Linked DNA regions of Homo sapiens: all the other regions are linked to region 3. Evidence: promoter capture Hi-C in 16 types of primary human blood cells and fetal thymus (Javierre and others, 2016). All regions are on one chromosome and are shown on one strand. Each heading gives the region's core, a stretch centred on a gene start or on the middle of the fragment in contact. The rest is flanking DNA. Distances are from core to core; before and after follow the strand shown. Region 1 overlaps WWTR1 (WW domain containing transcription regulator 1). Region 2 overlaps RNF13 (ring finger protein 13). Region 3 holds the start of COMMD2 (COMM domain containing 2). Region 4 overlaps WWTR1 (WW domain containing transcription regulator 1). Region 5 overlaps TM4SF4 (transmembrane 4 L six family member 4). Region 6 overlaps WWTR1 (WW domain containing transcription regulator 1). Region 7 overlaps WWTR1 (WW domain containing transcription regulator 1).

Region 1 (2,700 bases), core at 53-2,552, 190 kb after region 3:
TATAATTTCTCTCCAAATGGAATTGGATCATCCCATCCTAACAAAACAAATGCTCAGGGCGGCTCCATGCTGGAGGTTTCTGGACACCTTCCCTATATCATTTCTGCCTGGGTCACTGCAGCCTAGGGCTGCCCCTTGGGAGACTTCTCTTCTGGGATCCTCAGCATGTCTTCTTTGCTTGTGCTTTCTCCTCTCCTCTGTGTCTCCTCTAGTTTTAAGTACACATTATATTTTTCCTGCAATTTGAGGGAATCTCAGTGTCGAAACTACGATATATTAAAATCAGATGGCTTTCGCCTGAGGCATTCCCTATTTCATATGTTTGCATTCACTGGTGCCTTCTCCATCCTCCACTCTTAGCTTGCTCATTTTTCCTCCTATCAAGAAGACCTAAATGGAGCAATGTCTCAGCTCTGACCCTGGGATGTAAGGACCTTTCACAACAGATCTCAAGCTTGACAGTCAACTCTCTTGGTGTCCCAGGTCCTTCCCAAGAAAACCTGCAATTTCCTATTCTGGGTGTCTGGTCCTCAGGGGCAGCTATCCAGTGGCGTTTCTTCTGAAAGACCTCCAACCGGTCTGTTGGGGTAGCTCTTTGTCCTGTCTTCCTAGGCTGTCTATGTTTTAAAATTAGAATCATTTAACAGTTGGGGTTGGGGATAGAGGTGGGAGGCTGGAAGGAACTATGAGTATGAGGTATCAGAATTATGTAGCACAGATTGCAGCTGGGATTCTGTTCCATCCAAATTCCAATCAGTTATCAAAAGCATTGTTTAATAGGAGTTTCCTCAAAGTTCAACAGTGCCACAGAACAATGGCCCATACATAACACAGTTTCTCTGGTCCCTGCCGGACTGAGAATTCTGTCTCCAGGAGGTTTGAGGTATGTGTAGAGAGGTTTTATTTTTTTAAATGTCACTATTTATTTTGAAAGAATTGTAAACTTACAGAAGAGTTTCAAGTTTAGTCTAAGGAATTCCCATATACCTTTTCCCCAGATCTGCCTTTGTTAATTGTTTGCTTATAAACATAGCCACGGTTGCATCTATCCATCTATCCATCTATCTATCTATCTACATATTTTTTTTTCTGAACCATTTGAGACAAAGTTGGAGACATCATTCTCCTTTACCCAGAAATACTTATATTTTCTCAAAAGACTTTTTCTTTTTTTCTTTTTTCTTTTCTTTTCTTTTTTTTTTTTTTTTTTTTGAGATGGAGTCTTGCTCTGTTGCCCAGGCTGGAGTGCAGTGGCATGATCTCGTCTCATTGAAACCTCCATCTCCTGGGTTCAAGCAATTCCCCTGCTGCAGCCTCCCAAGTAGCTGGGACTACAGGTGTGTGCCACTACGCCTGGCAAATTTTTGTATTTTTAGTAGAGATGGGGTTTCCCCATGTTGGCCAGGCTGGTCTGGAACTCCTAACCTCAGGTGATCTGCCTGCCTTGGCCTCCCAAAGTGCTGGGAATACAGGCGTGAGCCACCGTGCCCAGCTGGACATTTTCTTATATAAGCACAGTGTAGGTATCAAAATCAGGAAATTTAACATTGATACAATACTCTTATCTAATAGCCCAGATTCGAAATGTCTTCAGTTGTCCCGGTGATGTCCTTTGTGGCTATTTTTGTTTCTGGCCCAGGATGTGATTGAGGATCTCACATTGCATTTAGTTGTCCTGTTTCCATAATCTCTTCTAATTTGGAACAAGTCTTCGGTCCTTGTGTTCTGGACCTTGACATTTTTGAGGAATATATAGGCCAGTTATTTTGTGAATCATTTTTAAATTTGGATTTGTCCGGCATTTCTTCGTGATTTTGGTTTAGGTTATAAATTTTTGGCAGGAATACCATGGAAGTGATGTTGTGTTCTTCTCATTGAATCCTATCAGGAGGCACACGATTTGTTCCACTATAGGTGACATTAGCTTTGATCACTTGATGAAGGTAGTGTCTATGGAAGGTGGGGTGGGGGCAGCAGAGCATGCTTGTGCCAAATGGCTCCTCTAATGAATATGTTCTGTAAAGCTAATGAAATATGTGGAAAGGCTTTTTGGTCTACCAGGTCTCTATAAGGTATGGCCTAAAATCATGTAAACTCTTCCCCTCGGGATGACTAACAAGTAAAATTTCCAACCTGCTCAGTTAAGCTTCACAGAACATTATTTATTTGACACATAATATATCTGTGCAGCTATATACACACAGGTAGGTTTTTTTTTTAATTTATTTACAAAAGGTAGGCTATGTTTATTAGAGTCACAAGCAGTTGACTGTCTCAGTGTGACTCAAGACCACAAAAAACCCATTTCTCCTTCACTTCATTCTGAGTCCTAGACTGGCAGGTGTACTGCTTGGGGCCCATTCACAGGTTTACAAGTTTCTCATTGAGGGCAATCTGTGACTGACACACGAGTAGTTTTAAAATGAAATTATGATGCTTCCATTCATTTGTTCCCTACTCTTGCATCTTAAAAAACATATAATTCTTTTTTTTTTTTTTTTTTGAGATGGAGCCTTGCTCTGTCACCCAGGTTGGAGTGCAATGGCGTGATCTCCGCTCACTGCAACATCCACCTCCCTGGTCCAAGTGATTCTCGTGCCTCAGCCTCCCCAGTAGCAGAGACTACAGGCACACACCGCCACGCTTGTCTAATTTTTGTATTTTTAGTAGAGATGGGGTTTCACCATGTTGGCCAGGCTG
Region 2 (2,700 bases), core at 99-2,598, 180 kb before region 3:
CAATTTCTTTTTTTGGATACCAACAAACTAGTTCACAAGTATATACGGAATGGCAAAACACCAAAACAGCCAACACCATACTGAAGTAACAAAGTCAATGAACTGACACTACCCAATGTTAAGACTTACTATAAAGTAATCAGCTGGTGCAGTGGCTCACGCCTGTAATCCCAGCACTTTGGGAGGCCGAGGCAGGCAGATCACTTGAGGTCAGGAGTTCAAGACCAGCCTAGCCAACATAGTGAAACCCTGTCTCTACTAAAAATACAAAAAAAATTAGACAGGCATGGTGGCACATGCCTGTGCTCCCAGCTACATGGGAGGCTGAGGCAGAAGAATTGCTTGAACCTGGGAGGCGGAGGTTGCAGTGAGCCGAGATTGCACCACTGCACTCCAGCCTGGGCAACAGAGCAAGACTCCATTTCAAGACAAAACAAAACAAAAGTACAGTAATCAAGGCGGTGTGGTACTGGTGAAAGAATAGATAAATGGGACAGAATAGAGATTCCAGAAAAAGACTCACACAAATATAGTCAACTGCTCTCTAACAGTGGAGCAAAGGTGATTCAAGGGAGAAAGGACAGTCTTTTCAACAAATAATGCTGGAACAAGTAGATTTCAACATGCCAAAAAAATGAACCTATATAGTAGGGGACTTCATCAACTTGATAAAGGGCATTTATTAAAAACAACAACAACAACTCACAACTAAAATACTCACTGGTGAAGTACTGCAAATTTTTGCCTTAAAATCAGAAAGAAAGTAGAATGGCCACTTTCACCACTATTATTCAATATTGTACTGTAAGTTCTATAAGCAATTACACAAGAAAATGAAATAAATCCATGTTGGAAAGAAAGAAGTAAAACTACACCTATTCACAGATGACATGATCTGTGATATGGTTTGGCTGTGTCTCCACCCAAAATCTCATCTTGAATTATAATACACATAATCCCCACGTGTCAGGGGCAGGACCAGGTGGAGGTAATTGGATCATGGGGGCAGTTTCCCCCACGCTATTGTCATGATAGTGAGTCTCACGAGATCTGATGGTTTTATAAGCATCTGGCATCTCCCCTGCTTGCACTCACTCTGTCCTGATGCCCTATGAAGATGTCTGCTTCTCCTTTGCCTTCCACCATGATTAGAAGTTTCCTGAGGCTTCTCCAGCAATGTGGAACTGTGAGTCAATTAAAACCTTTCCTTTATAAATTACCCAGTCTTGGGTATTTCTTATAGTAGTGTGAGAACAGGCTAATACAATCTGCTATATAGGAAATCCCCAAGAATCCACAAGAAAGCTACCAGAGCTATATACAAATCCATCAAAGTTGTAGGTTATAAGATCAATGCATAAAAATCAGTTGTGTTTCTCCACACCAGCAATGAACAATCCATAAAAGAAATTTAGAAAGGAATTCTATTTATAATAGTATCTAAAACAATAAAATGCCTAGAAATAAATCTAAGGAGATGAAAGACTTATAGACTGAAAATTACATGGCATTGCTGAAGGAAATTAAAGAAGACCTCAATAAATGGAAAAGCATCCCATATTCATGGATTGGAAGACTTAATATTGTTAAGATGTCAAGACTACCCAAAGCAACCTACAAATTTAGCACAATCCCTATCAAAATTCTATAACTTTTTTTGCAAAAATATAAAGTTCTATCCTCAAATTATTCTCAAGTTATTATGGAATTGCAAAGGACCCTGAATAGCTAAAATACTGAAGAACAACAACAAATGTGGAAGACTCACAATTCTCAGTTTCAAAATTTACTACAAAACTAGAGTAATCAAAATAGTGTGGGACTGGCATAAGGATAATCATATAGACCAAAGGAATGTACCTGAGAGTCCATAAATAAAACCATACATCTATGGCCAACTTATTTTTGATGAGAGTGCCAAGATATTCAATGAGAAAACAGTCTCTTCAACAAATGGTGCTGAGATAACTGGATTTCCACATACAAAAAAATAAGCCGGGAGCCCTACCTCATATTTACTATATATGAAAATCAACTCTAAATTGATAAAAGACCTAAATATAAGCTAAAACCATAAAACTTTGAAGAAAACATAGGGTAAATCTTTATGACCTTAGATTTGACAGTGTATTCTTAGATATGACATAAGGTAAAAACTGGACTTAATCAAAATTTTTAAATTTTTCATTTCTGCAAAAAAAGTTCTTGGAATTTTGATAGGAATTGTGCTGAATTTGTAGACTGCTTTGGGTAGTCTTGATATCTTAACAATATTAAGTCTTTCAATCCATGAATGTGGGATGCTTTTCCATTTATTGAGGTCTTCTTTAATTTCCTTCACAAGCAAAAAAAAAAAAAAAAAAAGGTTTTTGCTTATGCTTCATATCATAAGCAAAAAAAGAAAAAAGGTAAATTGGACTACATCAAAATTTGAAACTTCTGTACATAAAAGGACATTATCAAGAAAGTGACAACTGACAGAATGGGAAAAAATATTTGCAAATCATGTTATCTAGAATATACAAAGAACTCCTATAACTCAAGAACAAAATGATAAACCACCCAATTGAAAATAAGAAAAGTACTTGAACAGATAATTTGCCAAAGGAAATATCCAAGTGGACAATAAGCACAAGAAAAGATGCTCAACATCATTAGTCAGTAGGGAAATGCAAATAAAACCACATTAAGGTACCACTT
Region 3 (2,700 bases), core at 201-2,700:
TTCAGGAAATGATGCAATTTTTGCTAATCTGCAATTCACAGTCTAAGTAAAAGTTGTGTTCTCTCTGCAAATGCTACTTCAAGAACTAACTAATAAGTTCAAGGACCTGTCTTTCTGTGTCCCAGTGGAAGAAACAATTTCAGTCAGATGTGAAGGACAAAGTAGACACAGAGAAGTGAATTGAAAAACTCTTCCAATTTTTAGTCTGCCTGGGAGACTCAGAATATAGAGTTGTCTCAAGCCTTAGATAGAAAAGACAGATATGAAGAGTCTTCTTCCCTTCCCCTCTCTTCCTCCACACCCTCCATTTTCAAGGGGTTAAGATTTGAAGAATCATATTCCTATCAATTAGCAACTTTATCATCTCTGATATTTGAACCACAGCAGGTGAGAAGAGAGTTGGAAAAGGAACTAAATTATCACAGGCGCTAAATACTTTTTAAAAGGCATTGCTCTGGGCCAGGTGTGGTGGTTCATGCTTGTAATCCCAGCACTTTGGGAGGCCAAGTTGGCTGGATGACTTGAGGTCAGGAGTTCAAGACCAGCCTGGCCAACATGGTGAAAACCCGTCTCTACTAAAAATACAAACATTAGCCAGGCATGGTGGTGGGCGCTTGTAATACCAGCTACTCGGGAGGCTGAGGCAGGAGAATCGCTTGAACCCGGGAGGCAGAGGTTGCAGTGAGCCGGGCGACAGAGCGAGACTCCATGTAAAAAACAAAACAAAACAAAACAAACAAACAAAAACATTGCTCTGAATCCTGTAAGCATCGGTCATTGTCATCATTATCTTTATCCTAATTTATAATCACTCATAAAACTTGTCAGAAGCTTTCAGCTTTCAGGCTGTTATGTAGAAGGATGGGCTTTGCAGCAGGTAAGTGAGGGATCCAACCCTCTCCATCTAACTCTGTCACAGGCTTTGTCACATAATCTCTGGAGCTTTGTGTCTTATCTGTAAAAACAAAGCCATGTTTGTTGAGGATATTAACTGAGATACATTTAAGATAACATAGAAGCTCTGGAAACTATTAGCTTTATAAAAGTGTCAGTTGCTGGACTTGTCTATCAGTTTCCTTATCTCTAATGGAAATTATAATGGAACCTACCTCATAGGGTTCTTCTGAACTCCAAATGTATTTAATAAATGTAAGAACACTTCCTGACACGGTTAGTGCTTAACAAATGTGAACTATTGATATTATTAATGTATGCTCCACGAGGGGGCGTGTCGGATTTGAAACACCTTTTCATCTCCCATAGAGCCTAGCACCTTGCACCCAGCAGGCGCTCACTGCATCTTTGCGGGATGATTTCAATGTTCTGACCTCAGCCTGCGCTGCAGGGAACGTCCGAGTGTAACGCGTTAGTTCGTAGGCCGGAACCCAAAGCTCCGGACGCTGCGACGCCGGAGCCTCTAGGCGCCGGGACACGGGCGCCGGAAGTGGCGAAGGCGGGGTCGGCGCTGCCGGGTGAAATCGTAGGACAGTGAAGATGCTGCTGGAATTGTCCGAGGAGCATAAGGAACACCTGGCCTTCCTGCCTCAAGTGGACAGCGCGGGTCAGCGGGCGTGGGGGCGGTGTTCTGTGGGCTGGGGAGGAGGTCAAAGGCAGCGCCTGGCACTCAACAGCCTTCTGACTTTCATTGCAGTGGTCGCCGAGTTTGGGCGGATTGCTGTGGAATTCCTGAGACGCGGCGCAAACCCAAAAATCTACGAAGGCGCCGCCAGTAAGAAGGGAAAGGGGAAGGCTCCGCAGGCTTCTAGGGCGGTTGCGAGCCATTCCCTGTCTCCCGGGAGAGAAACGGATTATTGCGAGTCCTAGGGTCTTGTTCCGATTGTAGTAGAATAAAACCAGCAGAGCTCTTCAGTCAGGGTGCAAATCCTGCCCGTCCCTTAAGTAGCTGTGAGATTGTTAAAGCTTCTATTAAATCAGTTTTCTCATGGTAAAATGTACATAATACCACCTTACTTTCAGAAATACTGAAAAGTGTTTTGTATAAATATACCAAAGTCTGTGGAATAGCTGGGTCAACTGTAAATTGCAAGTATTTGGTTATCATTATTAGTTGTTCAGATATCCGCTTTTGCTAAAAAAAAAAAAAAAAGTGTTGTTTTACCCCTGGGTAAGAGGCAGTCTCTGGGATTAAGTCAATCCCTGTCGAGTTCCTCTTCTGCCAGACTTGAAGGAGCTACGTATTCAAGAGAAGGGCTACGCACCTGATACTAGTCTCCACAGTTCTGCATTTTGTTAAGGTTACTTGGTGGGAAATACCAAAGGCATTTGGCTGGGAGTGGAATGACAAGGAGCAGGAGCCTCTGGCCAACTTACTGTTTTTCATGCAGTGTTTGAAAACATGTAATAATGAATAGTGTTTATTTTTAAATACAAATATGAACAAGATAAATACTACAGTAGTAATTTATTTGCTCGTTTTTACTTTTCTTTCTCAGGAAAACTCAATGTGAGTAGTGACACTGTCCAGCATGGTGTGGAAGGATTAACGTATCTCCTCACTGAGAGCTCAAAGCTCATGGTAAGGGATTTTCTGGACTGTTTTGTGTTGGCTGGATTCTTAAGAACGGTCTGGTGTACTCTACATCATAGTCCTGGCAGGTACCTGTGTGTTTTAATAATGTTGTTAATGGTTTATAATTGATTTTTTGAAGACATACCTAAAAAATAAAAATCATATCATCT
Region 4 (2,700 bases), core at 34-2,533, 180 kb after region 3:
ATAATGTAATTGGAGGCCAGGAATTGGTTGGTCTTTCTGGGACTGAGAGAAGGAGGCTGTCTGGGAAGTAGTGGTCCAAGGGGCTCTTGAAGGAAGGGGAAAAAGCCCACTCCCGCTTATATTTGTTACAGGTACCGTTAACCCCACATACCACCAGGGCTCTCCATGGGAAGCACTTGTAGAGGATTTTTCTTTTTTTTAAGTCGAGGAAAAAAATGTTTACTGTCAAGAAAAGCTTTTCTTCCCCGTAGGAACTGCTATTCTTTTTCTTTATAAACAGCATGGGATCAGGTGATTGATTCCATTTGTCCCCTGATTTGAGCCACACGAAGATAGGAGCCAAAAGTGTAGTTTATCTTCAGGAACTCTTTTTGTTTGTTTGTTTGTTTGTTCTTTGAGACTGAGTTTCTCTCTTGTTGCCCAGGCTGGAGTGCAATGGTGCGATCTCGGCTCACCACAATCTCCGCCTCCTGGGTTCAAGCAATTCTCCTGCCTCAGCCTCCTGAGTAGCTGGGATTACAGGCATGTGCCACCACAGCCGGCTAATTTTGTATTTTTAGTAGAGACAGGGCTTCTCCATGTTGGTCAGGCTGGTCTCGAACTCCCAACCTCAGGTGATCTGCCCACCTCGGCCTCCCAAAGTGCTGCTTATACCTTATGACCTGTGTATTCATGCATCAATTTTCTTTTTTGTCTTTTTGTACCTTCATTAGTATTTTTGTTTTTACTGGTTGTGAAAACAATACATAATCACTGCTAAAAATCTGGAAAGTACAAAGCAGTTTAGATAAGAAAAAAAAAATTACCAGTGAGCCTGTTATTTGCATATATCACCATAAATAGTTTGATATGTTTCTTTTTCCTTTTTTGTTCCATTTTCAAATATGAAACCTGTACAGTGTATGTATTTATACAATACACATATATAGGCAGGTTAAATATATTTGTATATGTGTGTGCATTTCCAAGGGAAGTTATACTTTTAAAACAGCAGAGAGTTTTTCTTGAAGTAGACTAAGCAAGGGAGTGAAGCCAGGAAGGAGGTGGGAGTAGCGGGGAAGTGGGGATTAATCTAGCTAAATTGTGGGTCCTGGCAAACACTGAGATTACACTGTGAAATACGAGAAAGGAAATGACTCAGTAACATTGAGAGAGGGAGCAGAGATGAGACAGCAGAGTGAAAGAGTGAATGGCGTATCCTGGGTTTGGGAAGTGGTGGGAAGTAGGGGGAGCTGGAGCCTGAGGCACTAAGTGATTAGAACAATAGGAGAATTTAGTTTTCAGATGAAATCATCAAGGCTGTATTAAGTGCCTCTTGTGAGCAATAGCTCACTCTTACTTGTTGCATTCAGCCTGGGAGCCACTCTTGACACCATGTTAGCGCAGCCTTACAGCTGATGTCAGGTCGACTGGTCTGCAGAGCCAGGAATTTGGGCTTTCTTCTCAGAGTTGTTTTGGAGCAATGAGAACTGCTCACTTAAGAAAGGCTCCCTCTTGTACTCCAGCCTTTGGGGAATGCTGTGAGTGACACTTTTAATTAACAAATCCACTGGGAACAAAACTCCTTTAAATGTGTTGGCTGGGTGTGGAGTTTGAAGGGTGGGCCGTGGAGGCTCCCACTGCACTGCAGGAGTGCTGGGACTTCAAGCCATGGGTAAGCTCGGTCAGAACTGTCAGGATGAGGTCCACCCAGAAGGCCCCACACTCTGTCCCAGGGGATTTAGGCTGGCAAGCTGTGCTGGCACTCCTGGGGCAAGATGAGCTCATCTGCCACTTCAGATGCTGGGCTTCCTATGCTAGATGTTCCTGCTCTTGCCGCATTCAGGAGCCACAGCCCACTTGTTCAGAACGGGAGGGGAGAGTGGGGGACGAGCATTTAGGAATGCATCATTCCAGCTCCTGTATTATTCCTAGAGCTGGTAGCTGAAATTCTGACCACGGAAGTGTCCTTGAACATCTTCCAGCAAATGATGTATATTTCCACATCTCACCGGGGCCTGTGCTGATGTTGGTTCTAGCACAGCATCAATATCCATGATGTCAGAGAGTCTAAGAAAGGTTTATGAAAGAGAGAAGGATTCTTTTCCTTCTGGTACCAGAGTGAAAACTATTTATGTAGCACATGTCTGCCTTGGAAAACATGCTGCTTTAATAGAATGAGTTCTGAAGGAATAATCAAAGCATTTCTTAGGTCTAATTATTTTGCTAAAGGGAGTTACTTAATTTTGACATCCTCATCAATTAGTTCCTCACTTGGAAGGCCTGTGACAAGCCTGAGGCTGGCTATGAGTTTCCACCTGCCCAGAAGTTGATGGATTTTATGAAAGCTTTAAACAGAACTACAATTGTGAAACTGAAAGTGTAAACTAAAACTATTGTTTTTATTATTATTTACTTTATACTTAGGGAAATGATTTTCATCTCTTTACTTCAGTATTTCCCCATCTTTTTTTTTTGGGGGGGATGGAGTCTCACTCTGCTGCCTAGGCTGGAGTGCAGTGGCATGATCCCAACTCACTGCAACCTCCACCTCCCGGGTTCAAGCGATTCTCCTGTCTCAGCCTCCCGAGTAGCTGGGGTTACACGCGTGCATCACCATGCCGGCTACTTTTTATATTTTTAATAGAGCTGGGGTTTCACCATGTTGGCCAGGCTGGTCTCGAACTCTTGACCTGTGGTGATCCACCCGCCTCGGCCTCC
Region 5 (2,700 bases), core at 191-2,690, 250 kb after region 3:
AATGGTCTAAACTGAATCGAAACACCGTGTGTGTGTGTGTGAGTGTGTGTGTGTGTGTGTGTGTATAGTTCCCGCAACGAGATCTTCAGTGTATCTGCCTTTCTTGCCTCTGCCTATTAAGTTTCAGATGTCAGACACAATCCCTGATCTCATAGAGTTCTCATTGTAGTGAGGGCAAAACTACAGCGTGTAACTCTTTGTATCTTCAGTGCCTAGCCCCGCGGGGGCCAGCACACAGTAGGTGATCATTAATTACTTTATTGATGGCTTTGACAAACCCAGTTTTCAGTGTGCCTGACCTACGTGGTGCAGCCTATTAGCTTGGCAAGGGCAGAAGGGAGACTTTCTGGCTTGGACTTCCCTGAGACCCTTCTTATTGCACACAGTCACGTTGGCAGCACACAGGCCTTTGCTTCACCCTTGGCAACTTCAAAATTTCCAGTATGACTGGTTGTCTCTCAGGTGTCCTTTTACAGATGGGGAAACTGAGACTTTGAAAATAACTGTCCCGGGACCCCTAAGCTGGTTTGTGGTGAAGTTGGGGTTTGAACACAAATCAACAGAATGGATCTGATGCCCTGTTAGTGCCTGACTCATAAAGCCAGTTAGTCTTAATAAGACACATAGAATACTAATACTTATTACCTTAACCCTGGGCAATAGGCTGACAAAATTATTACTTAAATCAATTTTTTAAAAACTTTTTTTTGTTTGATCAAAGGAAGCATTTGTAGAAAAGATGAGTTGTTATTCATTCAACGTTTTGTCCCCCCTCCTAAAACACACACAATCTTTGTTACGTTACCTCTGAATTCAGGTTTTAATTTAACATACATAAAAGAACCCTAGCCATGATGACAGCCTCAAAAGATCAGTCACAAGCAACTCAAGCAAGGCAGCAAAAAAAGACAACAAATAACAATACTTAGGATACATCAATCATTCTTTTTCCTCTTAAAAACAGAAATTGGTCTTAGTTTCTCATTTTAAATGTGCTTTCTTCCTTTGATTTATGTAAAACTTCCAAAGATATAAACATCTTTATATACAAAGAAGTAGTATGGCAGTACATGTGACTTTATACATTTTACATTTGTAATAAAAAAATCATGAAAAGTATGCTTTGAACCTGTTGGTAAATTCTAAAAAGGAACTAATTTGAAAGATTTATAAATCAAATTTGTTAAGTGGCCAAACTATTTTTTATTTGAAAATAACAAAATTCTAACTCGAGCAAAGCTGGTTGGAAAGAAGGAATAACTGCCTTTTCTAAGCTTTATCAGCTAGGAAGCAGATAGGAATTAATAATTCCAAGAAGAGAAGAAGTTTTATGAAAAGAAATTGTAGTCGTCATGCTGTAGAGTCTGAGCAGCTCATCTCGGAGGTTTAAACGGGTCCATCTCCCTAGAAGGTAGAAAAGGTGAATTAACTATGATGTCATGATTTATGTAAATTTTTGCTTTTCCCCTCCTTCCCATCCCCATCACCTGCCTTCCTCCTGGCTCTTAATGGTTGCCTATTGAATGTTTCCTATACTTTTCTGGCTTTGTTTCAGGGCTTTACTCTGGCACCCACCTGTGTTGAGGTTATAGGAATGGAAGCTTCATTTTGTTTTGCATCATGTATTTATTTATTTAGTCCTCAAGGAAGTTACATTTTATTTATTTATTTTTGTTTTATTTTGTTTTTAATTTTTTTAAATTTCAATAGCTTTTGGGGTACAAGTGGTTGTTGGTTCTGTGGATGATGAATTAGGTACTGATGAATTCTGAAACTGCAGTGCACCCATCACCTGAGGAGAATACATTGTATACAATATGCATCATTTATTTAAAAAAATAATTTGGTAAGAGGTGCTGAGAGACCAAGTGCTATGTGGAAAGCCACCACTAACAAGTAGGAGAGCTGGGATTTGAACCAGGGAGGCAGAACCCAGAGATTGTGTTAAAGGAAACTTGAAGCTATGCTACCTCACTGACTTTCATAAGGTTAGTAAATAACATTCAATGCCATTTACTGAGCCTTCTAAGGATTCAAATGAATTCATGCTTGTCACCCTGTACTAGGCACTCCATTGACAACCGTAGGAGTAGGTATTAATAGCCACATTTTACAGACAAGGAGCAGTTGAGGGCTACTGACTGGGCCAAGACCACACAGCTGACATTCAAACCAGGTCTCATAGCATGTATTTTAAGGCACATTCCCAACTACCACTTCATTTAAGGACTGTGCCAGGCTCAGGAAGCTCTCAGTAAATACTTTCCGCCTGAATGGATAGATGTTGATCTTACACTCTCTCCATAAGTTAGGCAAGAGGCAGTTGGAATAACTGAGACTATGAGAAGTTAGTCAGCTTGCTGGAGTCACTCAGCTAGTAAGCTGTGGAACTAGGCTGAGAGCCCAAGTCTTTCCTCAGTGTCCTACTGGGGCAGGAATGCTGACCAGCCCCATGAGAGGCCAGCTGCCCAAGAGAAAGGAATCTTCAGCAGACTGACTTTAAAACTGCAGCTCTTGTGCACTGAAATATTTAGTAGTGAAACTTTGTGATGTCCAAAAATTACTTTCCAAGAGTCCAGAAACAGAGAGGGTGAGAAAATATTAAGAATTTTGTGAACATGGGTGAAAGTATACAGGTGTTCATTGCACCATTCCTTCAACTTTATGTAGATTTGAAGTTTTCAAAATAGAAAGTTGGAG
Region 6 (2,700 bases), core at 131-2,630, 230 kb after region 3:
CCTGGATTCAAACGAGTCTCGGGCCTCAGCCTCCTGAGTAGCTGGGATTACAGGGGTGCGCCACCATGCCTGGCACTGTTTTTTTGGGGTTTTTTTGTTTGTTTGTTTGTTGTATTTTTAGTAGAGACAGGGTTTCACCATGTTGGCAAGGCTGTTCTTGAACTCCTGACCTCAGGTGATCCACCCACCTCGGCCTCCCAAAGTGCTGGGATTACAGGCATGAGCCACCACACCCGGCCTAGGAATTCTTTAAAACAGAGATTTTGCTTGGCTAAAAATTATATTCTTGAGTATCTGAAAGTTAAAATGGGAAATTAGTAAAAATGAATGATTCTAACTGGAGATGAAGAGAAAAAAAGGCATCCAGCACATTAGATCAGATTGTTTTTTAGACACTTTTTAAAGCCTCATTTTTATCTGTTACACTCTAGTAAGTAGAAGAAAGTTATTTTGGATTTTGTTTTTTCGTTTAACGTTATTTTTCAATATCAGTAACACTATATTGAGGTCATATTGTTGAATTTGATTTAATTTTTCAGTTTACTACCCTTTGCAATGAAAATACTGTAAAATGTTACCCAGGAGTCATTTATATTTTGTGACTTCTAGAAAAGCCATTGTGTTTTGCTATCACCAAAATCCAAATTGGATGATGGTTCCTTCATCATTTGGAAGGATATAATTTTTCTCCCTGGAAAACACAGATTGCTAAAGTGAACTTTCGGCAATTTTGCTTAAAATAGTGAAACTTCCCTACACACGTTTCAGGAAGGCTACTGCACTTGTAACACACAAAAGATAATTTAACAAGTTTTTAAAAAATGACGTTATGGTGGAAGCTGGCCTTAGTTATCAATGCTTCTCAATTTTTGAAGTAGATATTATCTCTTCAGAAAATTGTTTGGGACTTTTTGAATTAACCTGTTGTTTTGATATTGTGTAATTAATAGTGGCTGAAGACCTGGGTTTTTCTTTCTCTCAGGACAATGAACATTTATTATATTTTTGTATGTATATAACTTTGTATATATCAATGACACCCAGAGCCATGGATATGTGGCAGACACTATATGGCACTTTACTCTAACTTTTGTAAAAGGAGCATATGATCCCAATTTCTAGATGGGTAAACTGAGAATCAGGCAGGTTAAGTGTGTCTAAGCTTACACAGCCACAAAGCTCGATCTAATGACACCAAAGTCAGTAGTGCATTCTGTCCCATACTATGACACATAAAGAACCTATATTCTTCATGTCATATCCCAGACACCTACTTTTCCTCTAGTACAGCATTTTCTCACCTGTGTTCTGTAGAACTTCAGTTTTATTTGAATACACATACTGCCAAAATAGGTTTAGGTGATTAAATGGGTTTAGGAAATAGTGTCTTAAAGAAAACAAAAGATTTCTTTACTCTAAGACTTAAAGCCTTAACATGCTCATATGCACTGTGCTCATATGCTTGTGAGAAAGGCAGATAGTTGTAGGGTGTAGGTATTACAGAAAGAGGGAAAACGTCTGCAGAACTGCCTTTATAAATGATGCCTAAAGTCATCAATGAAGACAACTTTTTAATAGCCTGGTTAAAAGAAGCTTCACACCATTCTCTTTGAACATAAAGAAGGATGGTATGGGTAAACCTAAGCTTACAATGAAACCTGTAGATTATAGTTCTGTAATAAGCTGTTTATTACAGACAAGGCCTCTCTACTCTTTTGTAAAACAGTTCTTCACACCTTTGTCATGGGAAGGCACAGATCATAGATCAGATCCACAGTGCCTTTCACATGCTCCTTTCTTATCTCCTTGGCCTTTTCCATTCTGGACCACACCTATCCAGAAATAATTTTCGATTTCTTCCACATCTCTGTACCTCTTATGAGTAAGGGTCAATAATGTGGTAGTTGAAGACATGAAGGTGAGGGTTATGTAAATACTTGAACTGTTCCTCCTTCAAGAGCCTAAAAGAAGGAATTAAAATGGTTTCTTTTCATTTTGTTATAGGAGAAAACGCAGGACAAACACCCATGAACATCAATCCCCAACAGACCCGTTTCCCTGATTTCCTTGACTGTCTTCCAGGAACAAACGTTGACTTAGGAACTTTGGAATCTGAAGACCTGATCCCCCTCTTCAATGATGTAGAGTCTGCTCTGAACAAAAGTGAGCCCTTTCTAACCTGGCTGTAATCACTACCATTGTAACTTGGATGTAGCCATGACCTTACATTTCCTGGGCCTCTTGGAAAAAGTGATGGAGCAGAGCAAGTCTGCAGGTGCACCACTTCCCGCCTCCATGACTCGTGCTCCCTCCTTTTTATGTTGCCAGTTTAATCATTGCCTGGTTTTGATTGAGAGTAACTTAAGTTAAACATAAATAAATATTCTATTTTCATTTTCTGCAAGCCTGCGTTCTTGTGACAGATTATACAGAATTGTGTCTGCAGGATTGATTATGCAGAATACTTTTCTCTTTCTTCTCTGCTGCCCCATGGCTAAGCTTTATGGGTGTTAATTGAAATTTATACACCAATTGATTTTAAACCATAAAAAGCTGACCACAGGCAGTTACTTCTGAGGGCATCTTGGTCCAGGAAATGTGCACAAAATTCGACCTGATTTACAGTTTCAAAAACTGTATTGATGACAGTAGTACCAAATGCTTTAAAAACTATTTAACTTGAGCTTTAAAAATCATTGT
Region 7 (2,700 bases), core at 95-2,594, 210 kb after region 3:
GTTGTTTGTCAATTCACTGGTTTGTGTACCAAAGATCACATGCCCTCCTTACCTCTGCCATAAACACACAAATTAACTGAGAAAGTATACACATGCACACACACACACACACACAAATGATCTGGTGAAATTATCTCATAACTTGTGATAACCTTTGTGGAATTTGCTTTAGACCACTATGTTCTATGTAAGGCTTAAAATGTACTCTAGACAGGGAGGTGTGAAATGAGATTTTAACAGAAACAAAAGCCGAGGCTAGATGAGTCAGGATTGGGGCCAGTATTCGAGCCTCCGTGAATTGAATTAAGGTAATAATTACTTAAACAGTAATGGTTAACAGGAAAGTACTTTGGAAGGAATCTCAGGAATCTATACTCCAAAGCAGAAAACATTCTGATGGTCTATTTTTGATAAGGTATTGTGGGCCCTGGTCATTAATCTGTATGTTCTTCCCTCTTGCAGTGATGAATCACCAACACCAGCAGCAGATGGCCCCCAGTACCCTGAGCCAGCAGAACCACCCCACTCAGAACCCACCCGCAGGGCTCATGAGTATGCCCAATGCGCTGACCACTCAGCAGCAGCAGCAGCAGAAACTGCGGCTTCAGAGAATCCAGATGGAGAGAGAAAGGATTCGAATGCGCCAAGAGGAGCTCATGAGGCAGGTATGGCTTTCCATGGTGTCTGGTGGAGGCTCCCTGGCCTTGGTGCCAAAGCTGATGGGTAGGTAGCTGCTTACCTTCAGGGTAATTCTTCTAGAGAAGAAGAGACAATAGGGCTCAAAGCCCTACTCCAAGCCTCTTGATTAAAATCCAGTTTCTTCTCTCAGTGTTCTGCCTGCCTTTTCAGAACGAAGCTTAAGGGTACAAGGACGAGCTGTATTAGCATGGCTGCCTTTGGCTTCCACTGCTAGTCTTTAGAAGGAGAGAAAGGAGAAAGTAGAGAGACAAGAGTCTGTTGTTGTGTAACAAATTATCCCAAAATGTAGTTGCTTAAATAGCCATTTCATTATATCGCACAATTTTGTGGGTCAGAATTTAGAAGGGGCTCACCTGGGATATTCTTCTGCTCTACATGGCATTGACTGAGGTCATTTAGTGGTATTCAACTGGTAGGTGGGTTGGTCTGGATAGTTCACAATGGCTTTACCTAAGTGGGTGGCATGATGGTGAGGATTGCTGGAAGACTGGGCTAAGCTGGAACAAAAGCCTGGGATCTATGGTGTGGCGATCTCAGAGTAGTGGTACTCATTCCATAGCAGCTGGGTTTTCAAGAAAAAGCATTCTAAGAGACAGGAAGTAGAAGTTGCCAATTTCTTGGGGCCTAGCTCTGGAAACGGTCGTGGAGTCGCTTTTGCCACACTCTCTTGGTCAAAGTAGTCACAGAGAACCCCCCGAGATTCAAGCAGATAGTGGAGTGGATGTTCCTCAGAAGAAATGACAAAGGATCTTGGTCCACCACAGAGCATGAAAAAGAGGGAAGCTGAAGGGAGAATGAGAAGGGAAAGTGGTTTGTATATGGACTCCAACAGAGTGCTCTGCAAAACTGCCTGGGCATCAATCAGGCACTTTTGTACCATACTCCATTCATTCAGTTTTCATTCCGTCAGTCAGGAGTGTGTTGCCGTGTGCCCTCTGTGGGTCAGGCTCAGTGCTGTACTTCAAAAACGAATACAAGAGAATTCCTAAAAGAACCCACAGTGCTCTCCCTGTTTCAGTGGCTTGGTCTATGGAAGAGCAGAATTCTTTCTTCTGTGTTGCTAAACTAATATAACCCATGTTTTCAGGTCTCATGCTTTTTTTCTGGCTACATTTTTGGGGAGAAAAGCTTCAGTTTATTGTTTTAACTTTTCAGACTTTGTTTTGTGACTCACATGAAGCAAGATACATGAATAACTTCCTTTTGCTACTTTAGAGAAATTAGAGAAATAAGTAGTTTTAACATTCCAGAGAACTTTCTTGGAGGAAAGGACCGAGCATGTTAGGGTAAATGCTGTTTTTTTAAAGCTACATTTGATACTTTCAAAAATACACATTGACTTCCATGAATGAATAATGTATTTCTCATCAAATACATTCCAGGATATAAGAAATCTATATTGTGTGAGGTTTAAAATGCATGGTAAATTAAAATCATTTCTCAGATATAGTCTTTGAAAATAAGGAAAATGAATATAAATTGTGCTTTGTTGCTCAGCTGAACTTTCCTCCAAATTTGAGGAATACAACTTAATAATTAGGTAACTACAGTTGTGTCTTTTACCCTGAGGATTTATGTTTGAACTTTCACGGTTATTTCAGGCTAACGGTTGTTTATACTGATTTTAGATATATAGTGTCATGTTTCTTGATGGGAAGTAATTGTATTGTTAATTGTTTTCTGTCTTTGAATAATAATTTTATTTGGAATAATTTTTCTGTTTTATAATGTAAGGTAAATTAAACAGTATCCCAACAGCATTTTATACATTCTCAGTTTTATACTTAAATGAGCTTTAGTGAGTTTTTTCTTTACACAAAGTTGTGACCATTCTGCAAAGAATGACTTGCTTCTCTGTTTTTGCGGGTGTGTTTCTCTTTCTCTTGCTTCTCCTCCTTCTTTCCCACAGAAAGTATTTCTGAAAAGGGGTGGGAAAAGTGCCCCAAATTGTTTCCTTTATTCCAGCTGTAGGTGCCTTTGAACCAGGATGTAGTACTGATG

What was found. Contacts are between HindIII fragments. The CHiCAGO score rates a contact against its expected background, and 5 or more counts as called.
Region 1: a fragment that was not itself captured here is called in contact with the fragment with the promoter of COMMD2 in region 3 in 1 of 17 cell types (endothelial precursors); the score reaches 6.1 in endothelial precursors.
Region 2: a fragment that was not itself captured here is called in contact with the fragment with the promoter of COMMD2 in region 3 in 1 of 17 cell types (neutrophils); the score reaches 5.4 in neutrophils.
Region 4: a fragment that was not itself captured here is called in contact with the fragment with the promoter of COMMD2 in region 3 in 3 of 17 cell types (endothelial precursors, megakaryocytes and M2 macrophages); the score reaches 6.4 in endothelial precursors.
Region 5: a fragment that was not itself captured here is called in contact with the fragment with the promoter of COMMD2 in region 3 in 5 of 17 cell types (endothelial precursors, M2 macrophages, M1 macrophages and 2 more); the score reaches 17.9 in endothelial precursors.
Region 6: a fragment that was not itself captured here is called in contact with the fragment with the promoter of COMMD2 in region 3 in 6 of 17 cell types (endothelial precursors, M2 macrophages, M1 macrophages and 3 more); the score reaches 18.7 in endothelial precursors.
Region 7: a contact is called between a fragment that was not itself captured here and the fragment with the promoter of COMMD2 in region 3, in 2 of 17 cell types (endothelial precursors and M2 macrophages). The highest score is 6.9, in endothelial precursors.

The regions. Positions count from the first base shown.
Region 1 is chr3:149,557,806-149,560,505 of GRCh38, reverse strand. The region is part of intron 3 of WWTR1 (WW domain containing transcription regulator 1); the gene reads left to right. Among named protein-coding and RNA genes, the nearest start is that of TM4SF4, 84 kb to the right of the region's middle. The HindIII fragment of the contact is 1,692 bases long and covers 457-2,148 here.
Region 2 is chr3:149,927,669-149,930,368 of GRCh38, reverse strand. All of the region lies in intron 8 of RNF13 (ring finger protein 13), which reads right to left. Among named protein-coding and RNA genes, the nearest start is that of PFN2, 42 kb to the left of the region's middle. The HindIII fragment of the contact is 4,883 bases long and covers 1-2,700 here.
Region 3 is chr3:149,751,239-149,753,938 of GRCh38, reverse strand. It overlaps COMMD2 (COMM domain containing 2), which reads left to right and starts at 1,450. Exons shown (of 5, transcript NM_016094.4): 1 at 1,450-1,561; 2 at 1,652-1,729; 3 at 2,454-2,536. The coding sequence starts at 1,495. RefSeq lists a silencer at 1,225-1,294. The HindIII fragment of the contact is 1,089 bases long and covers 834-1,922 here.
Region 4 is chr3:149,574,854-149,577,553 of GRCh38, reverse strand. The region is part of intron 2 of WWTR1 (WW domain containing transcription regulator 1); the gene reads left to right. Among named protein-coding and RNA genes, the nearest start is that of WWTR1-IT1, 76 kb to the left of the region's middle. RefSeq lists enhancers at 1,505-2,131, 2,132-2,700. The HindIII fragment of the contact is 2,092 bases long and covers 238-2,329 here.
Region 5 is chr3:149,501,380-149,504,079 of GRCh38, reverse strand. TM4SF4 (transmembrane 4 L six family member 4) reads right to left here. Exons shown (of 5, transcript NM_004617.4): 5 at 686-1,404. The coding sequence ends at 1,387. Among named protein-coding and RNA genes, the nearest start is that of TM4SF4, 28 kb to the right of the region's middle. RefSeq lists a silencer at 2,064-2,358. The HindIII fragment of the contact is 327 bases long and covers 1,277-1,603 here.
Region 6 is chr3:149,520,294-149,522,993 of GRCh38, reverse strand. WWTR1 (WW domain containing transcription regulator 1) reads left to right here. Exons shown (of 7, transcript NM_015472.6): 7 at 2,005-2,700. The coding sequence ends at 2,189. Among named protein-coding and RNA genes, the nearest start is that of TM4SF4, 47 kb to the right of the region's middle. The HindIII fragment of the contact is 431 bases long and covers 1,165-1,595 here.
Region 7 is chr3:149,540,300-149,542,999 of GRCh38, reverse strand. WWTR1 (WW domain containing transcription regulator 1) reads left to right here. Exons shown (of 7, transcript NM_015472.6): 4 at 463-665. Among named protein-coding and RNA genes, the nearest start is that of TM4SF4, 67 kb to the right of the region's middle. The HindIII fragment of the contact is 971 bases long and covers 859-1,829 here.